4 separate regions of the Homo sapiens genome follow, and all the other regions are linked to region 1. Evidence: promoter capture Hi-C in human tissues and cell types (Jung and others, 2019). All regions are on one chromosome and are shown on one strand. The core of a region is centred on a gene start or on the middle of the fragment in contact, and the rest is flanking DNA. Distances in the headings are between cores, read along the strand shown.

Evidence for each region. Contacts are between HindIII fragments. The study calls those that stand out against the background at their distance.
Region 2: a fragment that was not itself captured here is called in contact with the fragment with the promoter of CASP3 in region 1 in 2 of the 25 tissues and cell types used here (dorsolateral prefrontal cortex and spleen).
Region 3: a contact is called between a fragment that was not itself captured here and the fragment with the promoter of CASP3 in region 1, in 1 of the 25 tissues and cell types used here (lymphoblastoid cells).
Region 4: a contact is called between a fragment that was not itself captured here and the fragment with the promoter of CASP3 in region 1, in 2 of the 25 tissues and cell types used here (liver and lymphoblastoid cells).

What each region holds. Positions count from the first base shown.
Region 1 is chr4:184,645,934-184,652,278 of GRCh38, reverse strand. CASP3 (caspase 3) reads left to right here and starts at 2,832. Exons shown (of 8, transcript NM_004346.4): 1 at 2,832-2,884; 2 at 3,648-3,814. It overlaps PRIMPOL (primase and DNA directed polymerase), which reads right to left and starts at 2,541. Exons shown (of 14, transcript NM_152683.4): 1 at 2,371-2,541; 2 at 179-256. RefSeq lists silencers at 2,525-3,104, 3,115-3,324. The HindIII fragment of the contact is 11,001 bases long and covers 1-5,832 here.
Region 2 is chr4:184,214,266-184,220,473 of GRCh38, reverse strand. It overlaps ENPP6 (ectonucleotide pyrophosphatase/phosphodiesterase 6), which reads left to right and starts at 2,601. Exons shown (of 8, transcript NM_153343.4): 1 at 2,601-2,895. The coding sequence starts at 2,655. The HindIII fragment of the contact is 5,376 bases long and covers 670-6,045 here.
Region 3 is chr4:185,100,340-185,106,538 of GRCh38, reverse strand. The region is part of intron 5 of LINC02436 (long intergenic non-protein coding RNA 2436); the gene reads right to left. Among named protein-coding and RNA genes, the nearest start is that of SLC25A4, 40 kb to the left of the region's middle. The HindIII fragment of the contact is 6,305 bases long and covers 1-5,310 here.
Region 4 is chr4:184,903,966-184,910,063 of GRCh38, reverse strand. No RefSeq gene overlaps it. Among named protein-coding and RNA genes, the nearest start is that of LINC01093, 7.6 kb to the right of the region's middle. The HindIII fragment of the contact is 5,170 bases long and covers 1,523-6,098 here.

The DNA of each region.
Region 1 (6,345 bases), core at 1,583-4,082:
CACACAGGTAAACTAACGTCACGAAGTCTAAACTCCCCTCCAGAATCTGGCCCTAAATCATTTACCTATTTCATTTCTTACTCTTCCACCATCTCACCAAATGAATTGATAATGACCTCTGCTTTCTCCTGAGCCACTCCAGAAACCTCCCCCCGCACCCAGCACACATTTCTCTTACCTGGAATGCCCCACGTTGCTTTTCCCGAATTCTTCCCCTTCCAGGCCCAGATCAAGTTCTGTCACCTCTGGGATACCTCTGTAAAGAGAAATTACTGGCTTCAGCCAGAAGACACTGCCTCCAGCCTACTGTTTGGCTATAATTAAAATGTTTGGCTGGGCACGGTGGCTCACGCCTGTAATCCCAGCACTTGGGAGGCCGAGGTGGGTGGATCACCTGAAGTCAGGAGTTCGAGACCAGCCTGGCCAACATGGTGAAACCCCATCTCTACTAAAAATACAAAAATTAGCTGGGCCTAGTGGTAGGCACCTGTAATCCCAGCCACTTGGGAGGCTGAGGCAGGAGAATCATGTGAACCCGGGAGGCGGAGGTTGCAGTGAGCCGAGATTGCACCACTGCACTCCAGCCTGGGCAACAAGGGTGAAACTCCGTCTCAAAAAAAAAAGTTCACAGACTAAGTAAATTAGTATGATTTACAGGAAACCAGAAAACTGCTGCTAATGCTTGCTAATTTGGCAAGAAAGTTTAGCACAGGAAGGGGTTTGGGCATCACAATAGGATAAGGACTAGTTCAACCACACTAGTCCCCTCTTTGCAAATTACTGCTCTGCAGAGCCACTGTTAAGGTTGGGAGTGGGTCCTATTTCTCAGTTTTATTGAGGCAGAAAAAGGACTGTCAAACATTGGTGTTCACTCAATTCAGGAGGGATAAAGAAAGGCCTAAGTCTTATTTGTGGGATCTGAGTTTAACTCCTGTGACTGTCTTTTTAGCAACAGCAAACTACTTAACCCCTTTTTTTTCTTTTTTTTGAGACAGAGTCTTGCTCTGTTGCCCAGGCTAGAGTGCAGTGGCGCAATCTCAGCTCACTGCAACCTCTGCCTCCCGGGTTCAAGCGATTCTCCTGCCTCAGCCTCTCAAGTAGCTGGGATTACAGGTGCCCACCACTGCACCCGGCTAATTTTTTTTGTATTTTTAGTAAAGACAGGGTTTCACCATCTTGACCAGGCTGGTCTCGAACTCCTGACCTCGTGATCCACCTGCCTCGGCCTCCCAAAGTCCTGGGATTACAGGCATGAGCCACCGCGCCGGGACTTAACCTCTTTAAACTCGGCCTTAACCTCTTTAAACCTTATCCTCTTTAAATTGGAATTCCTATCCCGAGGGATTGTTGAAAGGCTGAAACAAACAAATGTATTATGAAAATGTAAAAGCATGCAATAAACTCAGCAAGGGGTAACCATATATAAAACTAAGTATATTTCTGTGCAGAATATAGTCCCTATAGTCGAATAGGCGCAAGTGTTAGAAACAGGCTCTGCCATGGGGTCCCTGAATCTGACTTCTGAATGTCAAGAACTTTTTGAAATCTGATGCAGAATGTCGTGCTCACATGTGTTGGTGAATTCTTCTGCGAAAATGATTCACAGTTTGCTTCAGGGTCTGAAATGAGTTCACGACCCAAAATAGGAAGGGGATCGGTAGGGCAGTGTATATAGCACACCATTGACGTAACCATTAATAACTCCATCTTAGGAGAAGACCCCATTTTTACATTTCATAAGGCATTTGCCAACAAGCATACTATACTTTAATAAACAAATAAAAAAATAGTCCGCATCCAGCCAGGTAAGGACACAAACAAGCACTCTCTTCCATTACCAGTTCTCACCACAGGACTCTGTGACTATAAAAGATGGGGCCTTCGGCAGCTCCCAACAGCCGGCTTAATTGACGCCGTCTTTGCAGAAGGACCTCTCGGCCCAAACCAGGCTTCTTTTCCTCTTCTTCACTCCCTCTGGATTGGTTCGTTAATCTCTTTGCCCCATCTCTTTTTCCTCATGATGTTAAATGCTACTTTGTTGTGGGATGCTTAACTTGTAACATTTATATGTGGATTAAGTACACTACTATGATGCGTGAGCGGCTTGAGCCTGTGTGTCAGGCTCTGACTACCCAGTGACCAGCAAGTGCTGAGAACTGCCTCCTTGGGAACTCCACGCAGCTCGTGGCTTTTGTGATCGAAAGAGCGTCCACAGCAGCCTGACATGGTGGAAAACACAGCATGCGTGGACCTGGTTATTTCTAGCCTGGCACCCTGATGACAGGAGGTTAAGGCTTTTGATTTAGGGAGAGAGACCTGAGGGTAACCCAAAGAAAGGCCTCAGGTCATCGCAGAGGAGACAGAAATTACCGGTGGGCGTCCCGGCCTGCTCCTCTTCTTCCCAGAGCTCAAACTGGGCAGCAGGCCTGGCTTTGTCTCCCTTCTAGGTACCCGTTGGGCCTGGCGCGGTTTCCAAGTCTCCCTCAATTTCCCTCCAGAATCCCGCGCTGGGAGCGGAAGCCCGCGGACTCTCAGGAAGACCTAGATTTCAAATCCGGGGCGGGGGAGCCGGGCCGAGCCTCAGGGCGGGACCAAAGCGGGAGGACTGGCGCGGGACGCGAGGGCGGGACCAGGGCGTGAGGACGCGGGGCGCGGGGGCGGGGCGCGCTGCGGTGGGCGGGCGCCTCCTGGGGCCCAGCCTGGGGCTGGGTTCTCGGGCGGGCGGGAGCTAGGGGACGGGCCGCAGCGGAGGCGGCGCGAGGGGCCGACAGGGGCGGGCGGGAGGCGGGGCTGGCGCTGGAGCACATCTCCCGGCGGCGGGCCGCGGAAGCAGTGCAGACGCGGCTCCTAGCGGATGGGTGCTATTGTGAGGCGGTTGTAGAAGGTATGAGGAGGCTGTGCGGTGACTGCCGCCCTCGCTCCGGGCCGTCAGCCCTGCCCCCGCTCCCTGCGTTCTCCCAGGCCCTGCGCCCGCCCGGGTACCTGCCCGGTCTGGAAGGCGGAGTGTTTGTTTTGCCACCTCGCCCGGGCGGGGGCGAGCAGTGAAGCCCGCGGAGCGAGAGACTTGGCCCGGAGGCGGGAGCCTGGGCCGGGGCCGGGGAAGCCAGGCAGCGGGTTAAGGCTTTTGATTTAGGGAGAGGGACCTGGGGGTAACCTAAGGAAAGGCCTCAGGTCATCGGAGGGGAGACCTGGCCCGGGGGCGGGAGGCTGGGCTGGGACCGGGGAGGCCGGGCAGCGCGAGGCCGGGCCGGGGAGGCCAGGCAGCGGGAGGCCTGGCCAGGGGAACCGAGCCCGGGGCCGGGAGGTCGGGCACGGGGCACCGAGCTCCGAGGGCGGGAGACCTGGCGGCCGGCCGAGTGCCGGAAGGCCGGGTCAGGCGGCGGAAGGCAGCGGCAAGCTGGGAAACGGACGGCGCTACCGCCGGCGGAGGAGTGGCCCCGGGAAGCGGTGCTGCGAGGGCTGGGGCGGCCGGGTGCTGACTGTGAGATACTCGCCCTGGGGGCTGATCCTTCCAATTTTGGACGAGGCTTCCGTCTCTGCTGCCTTCCATGCCTGGGGCCTGGATTATCCCGGGTTGACAATGTGGTTTAGCTCTTCCAGAGAGATAGTTGCAGGGTTTAAACTCCAATTCCTTTTCGGCCCTGCAGAGTTTCGTGAGTGCTCGCAGCTCATACCTGTGGCTGTGTATCCGTGGCCACAGCTGGTTGGCGTCGCCTTGAAATCCCAGGCCGTGAGGAGTTAGCGAGCCCTGCTCACACTCGGCGCTCTGGTTTTCGGTGGGTGTGCCCTGCACCTGCCTCTTCCCCCATTCTCAGTAAGTGGCACCCAAGCAGGAAACCGGAAAACATCGTTCGCAGCCCCCTCTCGCCCACCCACTTCTTTTCCTGCTTAGTCGCCAAGCCTTGTCGACCTTGTAAATGTCTGCCAGATCTGTCCGCGTCTCTCTATCTCTGATTTCAGCCGTCTGACCACAGCAGCCTCTTCCCTGGTCTCTCCACTTCCAGACCCGCCTGCTCCTTTGCAGTCCACTTTTTACAGCACAGGCAGAGGGATCTTTATGAAATGAAAGTCTAGAAAGCTCGTCCTTTGCCCTTAGGTTAAACCCAGCACTTAATATGGCTAACAAACCCCTGCGTGTGTTGGGTCCTGAGTGCCCCCACCCCTCCTTATCTTTAGCACCGGTTCGATTTCTGCACGGCAATGCTGACCTTCATACCTAGTGTCTGCCTGCAACACCTCTGCACTCCCTTTCTCCCGCCATCACATTTGATTAGAAGAGCTGCTACTTAAATTTCTGTTTTCATTAAACAGTTTAAGGTTAAATCTTCCTATGCTGTGTTCTTTCTGCAGCCAGCATTCCCTAAGAGAGATGTGTCATATCCTTTGCAGTTGCTTGTTTACTATCTTCCCTGCTAGATTTGCAAGCAAACTCCAGGAGGGACGGACTTGGTTTATCTTGGTATCCTTAGTGTCTTGCCCCAAATGCGGGGCCTGGCATAACACAGTGAATGCCCATCCATTGTATTTTTACTTTTATGCCCTATCTAGAAAAAGTAGACCTGGTTTAGGATTATTCAGCAAATAATAATTAGAAAAGAAATGGTAGAGGTGACATACGGAGTCACTGAAACGATGTAAACCTGCAAGATAGCTGAAAGAGGGCCAGGCAAGGTGGTTAGACCAGACTGTATCAAAATGGGCTCAGCCACTGTGAATGTGCGTGCTGTGGTTACATAATCTCTAAAAATGAAATATAAAGCTTAAATCATCTCTATCACAGCCCGATGCTTGGACTTTGGTTTTGCTTTGCCTTTTTGCAAAAGAAGGTTTTTGAAAGTGAAAATTATTTTAGTGAATGGATGAACAGTTTATTGGAGTATGGCAATAAAACCTGTTCAAAGTAAGAGACATTAGACATTGTACCTAGTTAAATCAGATTTGCTTTTGCTATCCTGAATAAAGGCCTTGCCTCTTGCCATTTGAAGAGACTGGCATCTGATATAGGCAATTATAATGCTTCTTTACTGTTTTGTTTTCAAACCTCGTTTAACACAATCTCCTACTGCTTCATCCCCCTACAAAGCAGTCTTTATTTTGATGAATGATATATTACATTGCTTCTGGTGCCTACTATTAGATCTTTAAGCTCTGCCCCAAAGATAAGAAGCACTGGTGTTTGGGCCTAAACAAAGATGGGAGAATTCTTAGATTTATATAATATTCTTTCTCTGCATGTTTTGTTCTTACCTTCACATGTTGCCTGTAGAGCTTCTTTGCATTACAATAATGAAATCAAGCTACCTGATATGTATTGGACACGGTCTGGCATCTGCCTTGTTGAGCCACTTTTGAATACCAGTGAGCATCGGTATAAGCCCTGAATAGAGATAGGGTTTGTCTCTTCCACTGCTTGATACACTCAGGGTCTAGTATAGTACTCTGCACACAGTTGGTGTTCAGTAAATTGTTATGGTGCAAATATCAAATGAATAAATGCTACTGAATCTGAGTTTTGGCAGTTTCAGTCTTCCTGACAGCAGGATTTCTTCAAGCGGTTTTAAACTTGAATCTGATTCTGCAAAGTAGTCATCCTTGGTGGGAGTGCTGAGGCTTTAAAGTCATCTGTAATTTTTATAAAAAGGCATCCGAGATCCTCCATTTTACACTTATATCATACAAATCATTTAGATCTGTGAAGGCTTTCCCATTTTCTCCTTTTGTCCTTCCAAAAACACCATCTTAGGACTTCACCTGGCACAGGGAAGACAGATCGTTTGCACATACTAAGTGCCCTTCTTTCTAACTTGTGTCATAAACTCAGAGGCTTTGAATAGTGGAGAGTGCTCTGTACTGTCTTCCTGGTCACGTGGCCCTTGCCAGAGGAAAGGAAAGGATGGTTTGTTTGTATAGTACAATGGAACTTATTTCAATGTATTCTGTATTTGATTTTACATTCCTGTTCTCATATTTTTACCTTAATTACATAACAAATATTAAAAGATTGACTTCACCAGGCCCAGTTACAATCGCCAGTTTGATAATTCTTATACGTACTCAAATGAATTCAGAGACCAGATGGGAAAAGATTTTGATAAAACCTCTGGTACATCACAACTGAAGTCTTTTCTTGTCCAAACTATTGTGAAACAGATGTTCTTTCTGTTTCATTTGCTAAATCTGGAAACGTGACTGCTTTTGAGACTTTGTCCTCTCTGACAGGTAATAAATATAATCCTGATATTTTTCAAGTTGTTTGACAGAAGTGTAATCTCCCCAGAAGTCCTGCTGGACAGGCTTCACTTTTCCTTTGGAGGAACACAGAGATACAGGGAATATGTTTTAATG
Region 2 (6,208 bases), core at 2,108-4,607, 430 kb after region 1:
CCCTTCCCTCCCTTTCCCTTCTTCCCATCCCTCCCTTTCCCTTCTTCCCATCCCTCCCTTTCCCTTCTTCCCATCTCTTCTCTTCCCTTCTTCCCTTTTCTTCCCTTCTTCCCTTTTTCCTTTCCCTTCCCTTCCCTCCCCTCCCTTCCATTCCCCTCACCTTCCCTTTCCTTCTCTTCTTCCCTTCTTCCCTTCCTTTCCCTTCCCTTCCCTTCCCTCCCCTCCCCTCCCTTCCCCGCCCCTTTCCTTCCCTTCTCTTCTTCGCTTTTCTTCCCTTCTTCTCTTCCCTTCCCTTCTTCCCTTCTATTCTTTTTTTTCCTTCCCTTCCCCTTCCCCTTTCCCTTTCCTTTCCCTTCTTTCCCTCCCTTCCCTTCCCCTCCCCTTCCCTTCCCTTCCCTTCCCTTCTTCGCTTTTCTTCCCTTCTTCTCTTCCTTTCCCTTCTTCCCTTCTATTCTTTTTTCCTCCTTCCCTTCCCCTTCCCCTTACCCTTTCCCTTCCCTTCCTTTCCCTCCCTTCCCTTCCCCTCCCCTTCCCTTCCCTTCCCTTCTTCGCTTTTCTTCCCTTTTTCTCTTCCTTTCCCTTCTTCCCTTCTATTCTTTTTTTCCTCCTTCCCTTCCCCTTTCCCTTTCCCTTCCCTTCCTTTCCCTCCCTTCCCTTTCCTCCCCTTCCTTCCCCTCCCCTTTCCTTCCCTTCCTCCCTTTTCTTCCTTTCTTCTCTTCCCTTCTGTTCTCTTTCCTTCTTCCCTTTTCTTCCCTTCCCTTTCTTTCTCTTTCTCCCTTCCTTCGTTTACTTTTCTTTCTTTCCTTTTTCTTTCTTTCTTCCTTCCTTTCCTCTTTCTTCTCTCTTTTCTTTTTCTCTGTTTATAGCAACAATACCACACAGCTCAAAGAAAAAAGAATAACATTGTTTTCAAAGTAACAACCTTTTAGGATAAACTCCCCTTTTCCTTATTTTTTAATAAGAAAAAAATTTAAATTTAATTATAAAAAGCATTACCTCTTATTGGAAAAAAGAATTCTGATCCTTGGCCAAGTCCCCTGAGAGGGGAGTGGTAATTTGGCCAATGTGTTTCTCTTTTGCAGCATAATTTAAAAAGTGACATGGTGATCCTGTGTTTGGGCTTGACTCAAATACAACAGAAAAAGAGAAGGAGAAAAGACACAAGCAGAGGGCAGAGGTGGAAGAGGGATTTTGGGGTTGACTGAGAGTGGCTGGTGTGGCTGGTGTCTATCTTCCTTCCCTGGAAAGTTTGCCCAGAGCCTGCAAGTTTCCTCAGGAGACAAGCAATGTTATAATGCGAATAACATCTAACATTTGTTCAACACTTGCTATGGACCATGCATGTTTTATGTCTTTTTTTTTTTGAGGCAGGGCCTCACTCTGTTGCCCAGCCTGGAGTGCAGTGATACAATCACAGCTTACTGCAGATATGACCACCTGTGCTCACACAATCCTCCCACCTCAGCCTCCTGTGTAGCTGGGACCAGGCACGTGCCGCCAGGCCCAGCTAATTTTTTAATTTTTTATAGAGATGGGGTCTTGCTGTGTTGCCCAGGCTGGTCTCAAGCTCCTGGCCTCAAGCAATCCTTCCACCTTGGCCTCCCAAAGTGGGCCACTGCACTCAGCCATGTTTTATAAGCCTTCACATGAATTGTGTTGTTTAATTTTATGTAGCATGACGGAGCCACTCTAGGGAACCCCTGGACTCTGGGTACTTTGTGCTAACTCTGTCTGCTCCCCAGCTCACATCTGCCTCCCTGTCACTAACCTCCTCCTATTTTCCACTCCGCCTAGTCTTCTCGGTCCCAAAGCCTGCATGGTAATTTCTAGCTCTGCTTTTCCATCTCAAGCTCTCAATCTCCAGCTCTCTATTTCATTTCCATCCTCCTGGGGCAATGCTGCTTCAGACCATTCTGCCAGTAATGATTTCCCATTGTCCAACTCTGGAAGCTTCTCATTGGCTCTAGGGCTCTTCTACGAACCACCTCCTCCTATGGGCACCAGCAGCTAAATCACATTTGAAAAATAAAATAATAACAAATAATAACACTGCATATAAAAACATAAGTGGCCAAGACATAGACAAATAACTTTTTTAAGTGCTGTGTCTACAGAGACACAGCTGGGAAGTTTACAAATGGGCCCACCGAAACGTATTGTTTCCTGTTTATGCACTGAGTCCAGAGGTTTGCGTTACTAAATTCTAAGTGAAAAAGAGTTTAAATGAGGCCATGATGTGGGATAACAGCAAATTAAAATCTTGCCCTTTTCCTTGGTTCCTCCCTTTGGTTAGCTCAACTGCAAAGTTAGTGTTGACTTTGTCATCTTCTAAAATTCCACCTCTGTGGGTGCTTGTATTTCTGGAACGTTCACCAAAAATAATAAGTTTGAACTCTCTCCCCTGGTGTTAATTCTGGGTTGTTTGGAACCCAGTTTATCTGAAGGAGTCGGTCTCTGGACTTTCTAGTAAAGGGTGAGCATAGATGTGTGGAAAAGGGGGTGCTGTTCCTTTAAATTCTGCAAGTGAACTTGACTCAGGAAGGCCAGCGGCTCAAGGTCCAGCCCCTGGAAGAGAGAATAGCTACAGATTCTCCATCCTCAGTCTTTGCAAGGCGACAGCTGTGCCAGCCGGGCTCTGGCAGGCTCCTGGCAGCATGGCAGTGAAGCTTGGGACCCTCCTGCTGGCCCTTGCCCTGGGCCTGGCCCAGCCAGCCTCTGCCCGCCGGAAGCTGCTGGTGTTTCTGCTGGATGGTTTTCGCTCAGACTACATCAGTGATGAGGCGCTGGAGTCATTGCCTGGTTTCAAAGAGATTGTGAGCAGGGGAGTAAAAGTGGATTACTTGACTCCAGACTTCCCTAGTCTCTCGTATCCCAATTATTATACCCTAATGACTGGTGAGTACCATGTCCTCTTCTGGGCAGGGAGGGGAGGGCTGGCATCCAGCAGGGAACAGTGAGCTCCTGGCATTGGAGTCTTATTTAAATGCTCTGGATTCTCTAGTCCTTTGGGACATCAAAGGTAGATAAAAAAAATCTGTGTTCTTGGCTGAGAAGACTTTTGTTTTCGTGGCGGTATTGTTTCCCAAAAGTTATCCCAAGGACCTGTTTTGGATTCTCAGTGCGGAGGACAGAGAACTATAGCAGTACATGATATTTGACGATATTAAAAGTGGTCGTTTATTTTAGAAAGAGAAATTCTAATGAGGCTCATATTTTCTAAGTTCAAGTCTGCAAAAGCAACAGGTGTCCGTGCATGTGTCCCAAACTCCTTCTGTCCCTTTTCTCTGTGGTCATGTCATCCTGGCACCCTGTGGGCTTGTTTCTCAGTGTGTTGGACTGTGAAAGTACCTGTGGGGTCCTCAGAGGGGAGTGGTGCTCCCGGATTACTTGGGGAAGGGGGGATGTTTAGGTCATATCCTTCCCTGTGACTTAGCAATGCCACCTTCCCCTTCTTTTGCCTTTTTGGCCAGGTAAAATGATACGGAGAAGAAAAAGCTTGTGTCGTTCAGGTTCCCCATTTGTGATTTGCAGCATCTACAAAAGACCAACCAGCAAAAACTCCACAAAACAAACAAAAACCTCGGCTAACCCAGACTGCCTGGGCTTGGGATAGCTGATTTTCCTAAGGACGGCCTTCATCTGAAATTGCCAGGACTCCAAACGCGACTGCATGAACCTGAGCCTCTATCCGTGCGATAATAGAATGTGCAGCCCTCTCTCTGCTCACAGAGTTGGATTCCCAGTTTCTGGTTTGTTTTTCAGCTATAACCTTTGTAAAGGCAGCGAGAGGCTCTCAGAAAGAATTTAGCAAACTATCCAGGGAGGCTGCTAAGAATGCACTGTTATTGCTGGTTATGCGGGACTCAGCTATGCACTCTGAGCACAGAGAGAGCTCTGCTAATTATGTTAACAGAAAGAAAATGAGATCTCTGATATCTCATGGACCTCCACAGAACACTAAAGCCAAAAGAGTCTAAAACAGACATTTATATCTCTGACTTTGTGCATAGATACTATATACACATGTACGGAAAAATGCCATAAACTGATGCCCCAAACTGAAGGGGAGAGATACTTCGGAGAAATAAAAATGAGGGCATGAGAGAGAGAAAAAAATCAGACTGCACACAAGCAAGGAAGTTATGTATTTGTTTTTTATTTCCCCCAGCAGACAAAAAAACAGTCTCTAAGATAAACAGAATTAACAAAATTCTCTGGCCCTCCCCTGGCATGTGTCTCCCCTTGCAGGGAAGCAGTTTGCAGGCTGCCGGCTCTCACATAGACGTGATTGTGTGGACAGCCGACTCCAGCTCTGTGCAGCGGCTTCACACACACAGCCCACCCCCACTCCAGCTGTCTTTCAGAGCCTTGCCAGGGGACCCAATTCATAAACTGCCACGCCACGTGCAGCTTCTGCAATCTTAGTGGAAAATGAACAAAATCCATCTTAGAAAGGACTCAAGTAAGTAAAAGGACCATTACAGACTCCACAGAGACACTAAGCCAATGACATGGCCTTTTGTTTGTCAGATCCACACTCCTGATATTGGCACAAGGAATAATTTGCACACAGCCTCCGTCATGCTGAGACACACCTTCTTTTCCGGCTGTGGGTGTTTTCCCTTGTGCTGTCCTGAGAGAAGGGCCCCTTCCTTTATGGGCAGCACAGGTCCCGTGAGTGTCTGACAAAGATCTCACCCTTGCTTTCAAACTGAGGCTGGCCCGAGGAAGCCACAGGTCTCCATATGTGTTAAGTCTCTGTATTTTCAGATGGCCAAATGTATTCACTGATGTGGAAGTCTGCTTGGTCTATATGTTTCATAGAAGCTACCCTGCACAAGGGAGGGATCTAGCAAGGCTCATGTTTCTGTACAAATGTCCTTGGGTATGATTTGTCTTGTACCTACTGGGCAGACTTGCAGACTTGAAGCAGAATTCGCAGGCTGGGAAATGCCAGGCCATGAACCTGGTATCACCTCCACTGTCTTGGAACTGACTCAGAGTTAAATTTAGACTATTTTCCCCAATACCCATACTTATTTTTCCACCTGATGCTGAAAACCTCCTCTTTTACTCATATAAAGAAGGATATAGCCATTGGGAATTGTAGCTAAACATATGGTTTGAGCATTTGAGCATTTTATGAACCAACAAAATTGCTATGCTAGATCTTTTTGGAAGCAAAAGATATGCTGTTTTAGGGTTCCTCAGCATTCACAAGAGAGGCTAAGCTCTCACTTCATTACCCGAATTATTGCTCAGAATACAGAAAGCCCTTGGTGTTCTTCCCTTTGCATAACGAGGAGTGATGAGTTGTTGGAAAGAATGCTGGCCCTTGAGCTGGGAGAACTTGCTTGGAGACTTCAGGCAAAATAAAATGAGATGAACTGCCGGGGCTGCATCAGGCCGGGATTTCAGGTGCTGCTGGATGCAGACATAGAACTAGGCAATGCATGGGGAATTTTATTTTATTTTATTTCACTTTAAATTCTGGGACACATGTGCAGAACGTGCAGTTTTGTTACAGAGGCATACATGTGCCATGGTGGTTTGCTGCACCTGTCAACTCGTCATCTAGATTTTAAGCCCTGCATGCGTTAGGTATTTGTCCTAATGCTCTCCCTCCCTGTGCCCCCGATCCTCCAACAGGGCCCAGTGTGTGATGTCCCCCTCCCTGTGTCCATGTGTTCTCATTGTTCAACTCCCACTTATGAGTGAGAACATGTGGTGTTTGATTTTCTGTCCCTGTGTTAGTTTGCTGAAAATGATGGCTTCTAGCTTCATCCATGTCTCTGCAAAGGACATGAACACATTCTTTTTTATGGCTGCATAGTATTCCATGGTGTATATGTGCCACATTTTCTTTATCCAGTCTATCATTGATGGGCATTTGGGTTGGTTCAAAGTCTTTGCTATTTGCACAGGTAATTTTAAAGTTAGGGCTGGACCCTCCTAGGAGGCCTTCGTGTAGAAAGTATGCAAATAGCGGAAACTCCCTTGAGACAGAGAATTTCACAGTGGATGGGGATGGGGAATCAACAGGCCTATTTGTGAGCAACCTTGAAACCATCTAGCCCAGTTGCTGCCATGAAGCCACCATGGCTGATTATTTATTTGCCTCAAAACATGTTTATATCAGGACAAAAGCAACCAAAATGCCAATCATGATCATGAAGATGAATCAAACAATTGAATGCCAGGAACATTG
Region 3 (6,199 bases), core at 909-3,408, 450 kb before region 1:
AGTGGTCAAGTAGGACATGACAGCCCCCTCATTGTATGCAGGCTCAGTGTGAAAAGAGAGACAAAAACTCACTCAGCTGCTTTTCTTAGAATTTTATTCTTCTTTTCTAATTTACGTGTCAGGGTGATTTTCAGTCTTGTCTTAGTATCTGTACTGGTTTTGAATCATGAGGAGAAAACTCTGGAGATTTCCAGCCCGCAGTGATTTAGGCTAGCTTGACAGGATAGTCCAACATGGATGGATTATCTTTCTTTCTTCCAATAGATAGAACGAGGAAAGGAAATTGCAAGCCTCAACTGAGACTAGGCCCCGTGATATATAGTGTATTTACCTTGGTTTATGTGAAATAATGGCTAAAACCTGCTTGGGGAGGATCTTTTGCTTGATGTTTTCGGTTTTGTTTATGACTGGAAGATAGGAATCCTTTCCTATCTAAATGTGAGGTTGCAGCACATTTTGGCAATTTTTCTAACATAAACACATTTTGTATGTTAAGATTTGAAGGAGAATAGACTCCCAAATGTTTTATTGTGCATTGCCCATAGAGTACTCTAAAATGCAGTGAAAATAATTTTAGAAATTTTGATTAAATGATAGATTGCTTCACATTTTATATTACTGTATGACTTTATAAGCTTATGTTACTGATATGAAACTTAGTGAATATATGTACAAATAAATAATTGCAATTCTTTGAAATGTAGGCAAAAATTATCACATCATTACGACACTTTGTTCTGTAGGGTTGCAAGAAAAGAAATAATATCCTTTGGACAAAAAAGTACCCCAAGCCAGGTGTGGTGGGGTGTGCCTGTAGTCCAAGCTACTCGGGAGGCTGAGACGGGAAGATCACTTGAAGTCAGGTGTTCAAAGCTGCAGTGAGCCACGATCACACCACTGGACTCCAGCCTGGGTAACAGAGTGAGACCTCATCTCAAAAACAAACAAAAAGTATCTCAATTTATAAAAGCATCTCAATTTGTTGCAGAATATCCACACAAATGAGGAGTATGTTTAAATTTATGTAAATTAGTTTAAGGGAATGCACATTGTAACATTTGTTAAATACTGTCCTGTAACTATTGCTGTTGATTGGATACTCAGCAAAGTGACACTGTTAGACAGGACTAGTGCTTTCCACAGTCCCTCAACAGGTGCTGTAGTTTCAAAATTACCCAAACGTTCTTCTCCATTGGGCAGAAATTATTTTCTGTGTATAACTTTTGGTAACGTAGATGGTCAGAGGTTCCATGTTTCTCAGTGTGGTGGTCACCAGGTGGATTTCATACTACAGCAGGTCCCTGTTTTCTCAACTGCTCTCTTTCCAGAGCTAAAAGCTGACGTGAATCTTGCTCACAACATGTAGAGTGGAAACCCGCTCAAGCACATTCAGTAAAAAGTCAACCAGCCAAGTGAAAGTGGATGAGCAAGAGGGCAGAGGTGAATGACTGAGGGTCTACTAAGAAGTGTTCCCCAGAGACAAATTAACTATCAAGTATTTCTGATGGACTCCCCCAAAGGAGTAAGGAAACTTTGCCAGTATTTACTTTCAATCTGTCAATTTTAGACTATAAGTTATTTCAACATAATTTACTTTGGCAGTTATATCATGTGTGTTTACTTATGTGCCAGAGTTCTGCAGGCAAAAGAATGGCCCAATTCAAGTGACAGCTTTTTAGCTTTAAGATGTTTTCAACAAAATGCTAATACTTTTACCTCTCAGAATAAATAACTCAGTTCCCTCCTTTTGAGGAGACTCAGAATTAGAAAACATTCTGGCTAAATAAAATTGGATCTAGGTCAGCTCTTTCATTTGACAGAGGAGGAAACTGAGGCACAGAGAGGCGAAGTGACTTTTTCCTAAATCTCATGGTTAATTATTGGCAGAACCTGGACCAGAACTCAAGTTTCTTGATTCTCAGTTCATTGCTCTTCTCCACTTAAAATCTGTTTTCCTCAAACATGGCTTTTTACTTCATCATATAAACATTTTCTCAGTTCTACATCTCAGCTCACCCTCACGGGTCCATCCTTTTCTGGTTCCTTTCTACATGCCACCTTTCTGGCAAGCTCTTTCTGGAGTGCAGTGGCATGATCTCAGCTCGCTGAGACCTCTGTCTCGTGGGTTCAAATGATTCTCCTGCCTCAGCCTCCCTAGTAGCTGATATTACAAGTGTGCGCAACCACACCTGGCTAATTTTTGTATTTTTAGTAGAGACGGGGTTTCGACCATGTTGGCCAGGCTGGTCTCGAATTCCTGACCTCAAGTGATCCACCCACCTCTGCCTCCCAAAGTGCTGGGATTACAGGCGTGAACCACCACACCAGCCCCTAGCAAGCTCTTTCTGAAGAGCAGGCTGCTCCTCCCACTCTCTCACTGCCGCTCAGTCCAGTGGCTTGGCTTCTTTGCCCTTGAACTTGCTCTCTCCAAGGTGTCCAGTGACAATGTCCACCCTCCAGTCCTTAGTTTATTTGACTTCTCTGCAACATTAAACTCTACTGTCCACTCACTCCTTCCTAAAACCACGCATTTTTTTCTTCTTGGCTTCTATGATACAATCTCCTGGTTTTCTTCTCTCTCTGGCTTCTCCTTCACGGATTCCTTGATGGGGTCTAGTTTCTCACATCTTAAATGCTTGTATGGCCCAGTTACTCTTCTCATGTATATGTTCTTAGACGTGCTGTCGGGCACATCATGGCTCCAACATCACCTCTGTGAGGATGACTCTCATGCCCACATATCTGGCTCAGACCTCCCTCTATCTCTCCCCGCCCCCACCTTTTTTTTTTTTTTTTTTTTTGAGACAGGGTCTCACTGTTACCCAGGCTACAGTGCAGTGGCACAATCAATCACACAACTCACTGCAGTCTCAAACTCCTGCGATCACGCAATCCTCCCACCTCAGCCTCCCAAGTAGCTGGAACTACAGGTGCACACACCATGCCTGGCTAATTTTTTATGTTTTTGTTTTTTGTAGAGTTGAGATCTCCCTATGTTTCCCAGGCTGGTCTCCAACTCCTGGCCTCCAGCAATTCTCCCACCTGGGCCTCCCAAAGCACTAGGTTTACAGATGTGAGCCACCATGCCCAGCCTCAGACATTTCTTTTGAGTTTCAGCCACATATATCTACTATAAACTTCATCTCAAATTCACCACATTCAAAACCTGTGCCACTTCCTCTACCTTCTGTATCTTAGTGTCTGTACAAATCAGAAAACAAAGTAACCTAGACTCCCATTCTCCCTCAACTCACACTTAACAAGCCACCAAGTAGTACAGAATCTATTGCTTTATCATCTCTCCTGTCTTCTCCCTCGTCTCTACCTTGAGCAGACACTGTTTTGTCTTGCCTGGACTACAGCAGTAGCTTCTTAGCTGCCCTTTCTGCCTCCAGTCTGCCCACCCCTACATATTGCTGGACCCTCAAATACTGCTGGATGTATGACCCTTCTATTTATTTATTTTTTTGAGACAAAGTCTCACTCTGTCACCCAGGCTGGAGTGCAGTGGCGTGATCTTGGCTCACTGCATCCTCCATCTCCTGGCTTCAAGCGATTCTCCTGCCTCAGCCTCCCAAGTAGCTGGGATTACAGGTGTGCACCACCAGGTCCAGCTAATTATTTTTGTTTTTTTTTTTTTGAGACAGAGTCTCGCTCTGTTGCCCAGGCTGGATATTTTTGTATTTTTAGTAGAGACGGGTTTCACCATGTTGGCCAGGCTGGTCTTGAACTCCTGACCTCAGGTGATCCACCTGCCTCGGCCTCCCAAAGTGCTGGGATTACAGGCATGAGCCACAGTGCCCAGCCTGTATGACCCTTCGAAACTGCAAATATGATTAGAACCCTTTGGCATGCATGCCAGGTCTTGCATTCTCTGGGTATGGCCTTCCTCTCCAGCCTCGTCTCCCTTCACCCCCGCACATCCACCTTCCATCTCAGCCTCTCCAAACCACATACAAGCTCTAAGATGCACTGTGCTGTTTCTTGCCTCCAGTTCCCTTCATGTGCTGTTCTTGAAATGCTCCTCCCTTTTTTCTCATTCACTCACACTCATCCTTTAAGTTCAGTCTAAGTGTCGCCTCCTCAGAGAGCCTTCTTGCATTCTTCCATCTGACCTAGATGCCTCCTCTCCTCCCTGACTCTCTCACAGCACCCACTCCATACCCTATTATAATTGTTTCTAAACTGTAAACTCTCAAAGACCGAGTGTATTTTCAGCCTGGTGTATTAATATCGCATTTACAGATTTTACTTGAGTTTTTCCAGTAATGTAGCATATGCATTACAGCACAAGGTGATTATGTGCCCCCAACTTTCTCTGCTTTCCGGAGCTCCCAGGTGAGGGGTCTGGAGGCATGCGCAAGACCATCTACTGCTCAGAGCCGGGAGTTGCAGGTGCCACCTCCTTCCCCTAACCATGCCCCCTGACCTCTCCCTACTCTTGCGAGTGAGCCTCATGGCCAGGCTGCTGCGGAGCCAGGAAATGGGATGTCTGGATGCCCTGCTGCTGGACTGCCACAGCTTCCCAGGCCATCTTCTTGGCCCCTCCCTACCCCCACCCCAATAAGACTGGGTGAGAGGGGAGGTGTTGATGCTCGTTCTGCTGACTGGCCCCTTTGTGGGGAGATGGCTGGCCCCAAGACAAGAGATGGTGGTTCTCTAAGCATAGAAGGTGGGAAACTCAGCATCTTTTCTTTTCTCAGTCAATTCCAGAAGTAACGGTAATAGCCAAATTCTTCTTGTGGGCCAAGAGCAATTTTGAGGGCTTTACATTTAATCCTTGTGGTAACCCTATGACGAATGAATTAACTTTATTATTCTCAAGTGACATATGACGAAATTGAGTGAAAGAATGGTTAAGTAACTTAACAAAGTCATGAGCTAGTAAGTGGCAGCGCAGATTCAAACCAAAGCAGGCTGGTGCCAGAGCCCTTCTGTGTGCCCCCGGGGCTCCACTGCCTGTCTCCTCAACCAGATGTTACAGGGAGGTTCACTGACACCCACGGCGATGGTCCAGAGCACTGCTTGGCAGCCAGGCGTTCCTCCCTGCGCCTCAGTGACCTCATGGGATCATGGTGCTTCTCTTTGCCCCTCATTTAATTTTACCTGCTGGATGTGGTTTTCAAGTTACAACATCTCTTGGTTGGCCCCCCATGGGTTTTTAAAAATATTTCTCTTAGAGTTTAATTATTAGTCATCTGCCCACTATTTATTTGTACTTTTCATGACATTTACTTTCATATGCTTTTACTGCTTTTTTTAATTGATAAAGTAATATGCACTCATGATAAGCTATGCCAATTGCAAAAAGTGGACAGTACGTAGAACAAAGGTATACCTTTTGTTCACAACTTAAATGTGGTAATAAAATGTATGCTTTTTCTGTGACTAATCTAGCCTTGTTTCTAACTCCATCCTCACCTTACCTCTCTGCCACCCCCACCCACAGACTAGCGGCAAAAAATTAAAAAATAATAATAACTCGTGGCTCACACCTGTAATCCCAGCACTTTGGGAGGCCGAGGCAGGCGGATCACGGGGTCTGGCTAACACGGTGAAACCCCGTCTCTATAAAAATACAAAAAATTAGCCAGGCACGGGGGCGGGCGCCTGCAGTCCCAGCTACTCAGGAGGCTGAGGCAGGAGAACGGCGTGAACCCAGGAGTTGGAGCTTGCAGTGAACCAAGATCGAGCCACTGCACTCCAGCCTGGGAGACAGAGCCAGACTCCGTCTCAAAAAATAAATAAATAAATAAATAAATAATAATAACAACTCAGTGTCTGATCTTGGTTAAATCTCAGTCTGCCTGGTAGTTTCAGCTGTGCTTTAGTGGGGAGGGGGGGTTCGGCCTGTCTTGGAGGAAAGGGTCAATCTCCCAGAGAGCTTGTCCTTCACCCTGCTCCTCTCAATGAGGAGAGGCAGGGACGCGGTGCAGCTGTATGGCCTGGAAGCCAACATTCTCGCATCTACTGGGTGTCTGTCTGCTATTCCCTGGCTTCCCCGGCCCCTGGGCAATGCTCTCTAGCCATCAAGGACACCCTGAAGACCCCTGGTGCTGAAGTTGAGTGTGGAGGTCGGGGTCTTGTGTGGGGACAATGCTCCTGGTGGGTCTTCCTGGCTGCCCTGACCTCAGCCAGACTCCTGACAGCCCTGCCACCCTTCTGGGTCTGGGGAAGCCTCCATTCAACCCTACTCAGG
Region 4 (6,098 bases), core at 2,858-5,357, 260 kb before region 1:
ACTAACGTGGGGGTGAGGTTATGCTTGTGTTTTTGCAGGAGATGAATGAACTGTGTGGATGCCCTCAAGATGTGTATGACCATGGAATGGGAGACTGGAGGGACCCATAGATCCCAACCTTGGACCGGGTCCCCCCAGTACAAGCCATGAGCCAGTTGAATCTGAATGCAAAGAAGGAATGAGGACCGACCAGAATCACGATGTTTAATAGACCAATGCTTTGTGACTCAGCTCCCCTCTACCCTGAATACAAGAGACCCTAATAGTTGGGCAGGAATATCATCACCCCTATTCAGCATGAAGAAGTTACAGAAGACGGACCTTCATCCTTCTGCAACCCCTAGGATTAAGGGTCCTCTTGTGAAAGGGAAAGGGGAGATATGTGGGAAGTATTCAAACCAGAGCGACTCCAGTTTCAATAAGAGCTAAGAAAAATAAAGCTGGATCACCAACTGGCAATTAAGGGCTGCACAGCCTGCAATCGTCTTGCTCAATTAAAAGAGGCCACCTTTTATGCTAGTAATAAGGATAGTAATAACGATACCTTCTCGTTTTCAAAAAAGAGAAATGGGGCATGTTGGGAAAAGGCTGAGTGTTGGGAAAAAGACTGAGGCAGGGCTTGCATGACTGACATAATGTCCTCTGAAATGTGTCTAGACTTGCTGGCTCCTTGCTGCTAGCCCTCCTAGGCTCGTATTCCCATTATCTCAAGTAGCAGAACATGTTCCTTATACATGCTAAACCATCACAGCTGTAGATCATGCACCTGCCCTTTTGACTTCCACGTTCTCACCACCTGTTTCTTTGTTGGATTACCAATAAATAGTATGGACTCCCACAGCTCGGGGACTTCGCAGCCTCCATACACTAGTGATGGCCCCCTGGTCCCACCTTTCTCTCTCAAACTGTCTTTTTCTCAATCCTTTGACTCTGCCGGACTTTGTCACCCCCACGACCTGGTGTTGGGTCTGATCACCCCAACAGGTAGGCCTATGAGAATCACAACTATCCTGTTCTTTGGAAGGTTTAAATTGTAAAAACAACTTTTGGGGGTTTTGTCTTGTTTTTTTCCTTAGAAAACTTTGCTAATACTTTCCTTAAGATGAACAGTCCTATAGATTTAAATAAAACTTGTAGAATGCACCAAAGATTACAAAGGACTTTAAAAGCAACCGTGTGAAGTCAGTGTTATGATTGCCATTTCACTGATGTGTGTTCACATCAATTTTCATTGTACATTCAGATGGACACACATTTCATTGATGTGTCTTCACATCAACTTTCTTTCTTTTTTTTTTGTTTGTTTTTTCTTTGAAAAAGAATTTCACTCTCGTTGCCCAGGCTGGAGTGCAATGACACGGTCTCAGCACACTGCAACCTCTGCCTCCTAGGTTCAAGCGTTTCTCCTGCCTCAGCCCCCTGAGTAGCTGGGATTACAGGCACACGCCACCACACCCGGCTAATTTTTGTATTTTTAGTAGAGATGGGGTTTCACCATGTTGGCCAGGCTGGTCTCAACCTCCTAACTTCAGGTGATCCACCCATCTCGGCTTCCCAAAGTGCTGGGATTACAGGCATGAGCCACTGCGCCCGGCCTTCCACATCAATTTTTATTGTGTGTTCAGATGAACACATATGTCATTGTGTGTTTGGATGAACTGTTGTGGAGTAAGGCCAGGCAGGACTCTATTCTTACCCCAGTGCCCTTATTACAGCAATACATCTTTTTCTAGAGGTACCACAACAGGCCAAGGGCTCAGGCTAACATGCTGGCTAGATGGCCTTCTTAGAAAAGGGCATCCCTTGACACTGCCAGTTGTTTGTTTTCTGGGACTCCTATTTCATTTAGGGATAATACCCAGAACATTGGTTGGACCACTCTATCACCTTTAAGAGACAGGAAGGGATAAGGATCCTAGTTGGTGTGGTTGAAGACATAGTCAAATTAAACAGTTCTCTTGGAGAGGTGGATCTCCAAGACTTCAGAGGACATAATGTCCTCTGAAGGTGTGAGGTAGTCTGGGCTCTCTTGAAAAGCACAGGGATGACAAGTACTTTTAGGGTGGGGCAGGAAGTGTGGGTTTACCATCCCTGTACACTCTGCCCATTGGTCTGTCTTCTGGGGTATCACTTAGTTTGGGAGGTAGAAATTAGCCTCTTCAACCTGAGCACTGCTAAAATTCTATGGGCTAATGTAAAAAGTTGGATCACACAGCACAGACAGAAATTGTGTTTCCACAGGAAAGATTAGGAACGTTTCACAGAGGACTGCTGGTTGCCTTAGTAACACGACAGCCCTCTAGGACAGAGCTCCAAATAGACAGGAAGTGAGGACACCAGGGCCAATGTCGGCAGAACAGGCATTCTTACCTAAAACACAAGAGTCCCGAGGCCGTGTTCGGGAAGTCTGTGCAACCCTTAGCATGAGAACAAATCACAGATCTGGTGTGATTTGCTTGAGTGAAAGAACACGCAGTCCATGTTTCCCATTACCCAGCTCCATTTGGATAAATCCAGAAGAAAACACACAGAATCACATCCTTCTTGTCCAGTTAACTTGCTGCCTCCCTGAAGAGTATGATTTACATAATCATGAGAGATGCTGTTTTTAACAAACACACCAGAACTTACCTATCCACAAGATGGCCACCTTTCACAGACATGGGCTGGGGTAGGGTGAAGGCACAGTTATTGCTGAAGATATAAATGTTGCTTTAAGGTAGTACTTTGGAAAATCTAGTATTTGATCACTAGACATACAAGACAATCTGATTAGTTTCTGAAATCACCCTTCAAGTTTGTTTGTTTTTAACTAAAAATTGAGCCCTAGATTGATGCACCTCTCCCTAGTGCCCAGCACATACTGGTATTCCACTAAGTGATTCATGAATGTCCAGAGATCCATCTCCCTCCATCACTCGAGTTCCCCCAAGTCAGCTCTACCTTCAAAGGTGAAGACTTACCATCAGCAGCAAGTCCAAAGGATATTCGGCAGAGTCTAGTTGGCTTTCCAAAAAGGCATCCCAACAGGGCCACTTCAAGGGGACAATATTCACTAAATGTTATGGTTTTAAATTACAGCCACAAATTCATTAATGCTTTCTTCATGAGAGGTGGGGCTTACGTTCCCTCCCTTTGAAAATGGGCAGGCATGTGTATCTTTGACTAATAGAGTGAAAATGATGTCATGTGACTGCCGAGGCTAGATCATGAAAAATCAAGCTATTTCTGCCTTGTTCACTCGAATCCTCATTTTTGGAGCCATGAGCTGCCAAGTAAGAAGTATGAGTACCCTAATTGCACTATGCTGTGTGGAAGCTCAGTATTATGTGGAAAGGTCAGTTGTGGGTTTATGATCAACAGTCCAAGCTGGGCCAGGCTTTGAGGCATGCTAACACAGGCATGAGACATATGAGTAAAGACACTTTCAGGTGGTTCCAGTACCAGCTGTTCCAGTTCCAGTTGCTTCTAGCTATTTGAGTTTCCCTAGCTGGGATTCAGGTCACTGTGGAAAAGAGATAAGGAATCCTCACTGTTTCTGGCCTAAATTTCTGATTTAAAGCATTGGTGAGCATAACAAAATAGTTGCTGTTCTATGGCAATTTTAGGGTACTTTGATATAAAACAATACGTAACTGGACCACTTGGTTTGACAAAACTGGATATCTAGTAAAAGTAAGTTATGTTATTTTAAAGACATATGATACCTATCTGCCAGAAACCGTGCTGAACATGGATTGTCGAAAATGGTGAATTCATTTTACCAAGATTCAACCAAATGGTGAACCCACATTTTAGATGCTGTGGCCTTGGTGCCTTCTTTTAGGGCTGCCACTGGCGAGAGGTTTGGTGTTTTTGGGCCATCGTTCCCTTCTCTACAACATGAGAAGCTGTGCTACGTAGCCTCTAAGGAGGTCATGATTCTAAGCTTTCAAGCAGGAACTGGGTGCAAAAAGTATTATTCCCACACCAACGTTCGTCGCAGCATTATTCACAATAGCCAAAAGGGAAGCAACACAAGTGTCCATCCACAGATGAATAGATAAGCAAAATGTGGTCTACTCATGCAATGGAACATTGTTCAGCCTTAAAAAGCAATGAAGTACAAGTACCTGCTCCAACTTGGATGAACCTTGAAAACATTATCCTAAATTAAAGAAGCCAGATGCAAAAAGACAAATATTTTATGTTTCCACTCATATGATGCACCTAGAATAGGTAAATTCACAGAGATAGAAATGGTTACCAGTGGCTAGGGCAAAGTGGACACTGGGAGTTGTTTAATGGGTACAGAGTTTCTGTTTGAGATGATGCAAAAGTTCTGGAGATGGATGGTGATGCTGGTGCAACGTTGTGAATGGACATAACACCACTGAAATGTACACTTGAAATGGGTTAAAATGGTAAATTTTTAAAATTTATATTTTTGGTACAGTAAAAATATTTTACAGTCTTCTTCCAGTAGGCTTTAACTCTGGAGTCTGTGCCTCATATCGCCATGTGGAATAAGGATGAGGATGGGTGCCCTCGCCCACCTTCATGCAATCACCCAGGCATCTGGAAATGTCTCTCAACCTTCTCAGTGGCCCCAGGACACAACCCAGATTACTCATCTCATCAGTAGGGATTTCTGGATACACTCAAAGGATAGCTGTAAAAAGCTTCCATGAATATGTGGTACAACACCATGGCTTTGCATATGAGGAAAGAGGGAATATAACTCAAAGAACCATCTTCCATGGAGAGAAAAGCAATCCAGCTAGATTTAAAGCTTAACTTAAACCAAGTCTGGCATTTTCTCTTCTAGGATAGTGGTCCACTTTTCTCTAGAAATCTCATTTTGAACTCAGTTGGCGTTTTTGTGTTCATCTCTGAGCCAAGGAGTTTATAGAACCCAGAATGAGGGTCTAGGTTCTATTAAACCTCTAATTTGATTCTTCTTCTCAACATATTAATCTAGACAGTCACTACCAATTCATTAGAGTCGGCATAAAAGATGAAATCTATTTGCTATTCCCATTACAATTTCATTCTTTTTTTTTTTTTTTTTTTTTGAGACGGAGTTTTGCTCTTTTTGCCCAGGCTGGAGTCAATGGCACTATCTCGGCTCATCGCAACCTCCGCCTCCCGGGTTCAAACAATTCTCCTGGCTCAGCCTCCCGAGTAGCTGTCATTACAGGCATGTGCCACCACACCTAGCTCATTTTGTATTTTTTGCAGAGATGGGGGTTTCTCCATGTTGGTCAGGCTGGTCTCGAACTCCCGACCTCAGGTGATCTGCCCACCTCGGCCTTCCAAAGAGCTGGGATTATAGGCGCGAGCCACCATACCTGGCCTACAATGTGTTTTATCGTAATATGGTGGAGGGGGCACTGAACTTGAAGCCCAATGGCCTGAATTTAAATCTAGACTCTGCCGTGACCTAGGGCAAGTCATTAAATTTTTCTGTTCTTCATCTTTAAATAAAGCAATTGGAGGAGATAAACCTTAAAATGCCTCCCAGCTTGTATGATTCCATTATTCTCTGATTATGCACTATTTTTGTTTGTGCTTTGAAAGTAAGGAAATGACCTTAATACTTGAAAGTTATCATGCATCAGTCGATTCTACTATTCTTCCATGCGTGTGTGAAATGGTGTGTGGACTGGTGTGTAGATTGTCTCACTGTAGTGACAGCTAGGTTGCATTGCCCAGTTTTTCATTTCTGAATGAAGGACTTATTCCCCCAGCTGCCAGGCATGATGCCTGCAAACAGCCCTCAAGTCTCAGTCCCCCTGAGGAGTTGCTCTGGGCTGGAGGAAGCCACTTTGCCTGAGACTTACTGCCTTCCCAGAGGCAGCTTGTACCCAAAGACATTGTATCCACATGGGAATTTAAAGATAGGGTCCCCTCATCCAAACTCAGGATAACTCTGAAAGGTTCTACAAGCTCAGAGCTTCTCATGGGGTTAGCTGAGGCCTTTGATGAGACTAAATTGCAACCCAGTTTCTCCCTCTGTCCAAATTTGCTTCTTTGCCTTCCCCCACAAGGAGTAGATCCCAAAAGCACCCCCCAGTAAAAATCTTGCAGACTAATTTCCATTCAGTCTGTTTCCCAGG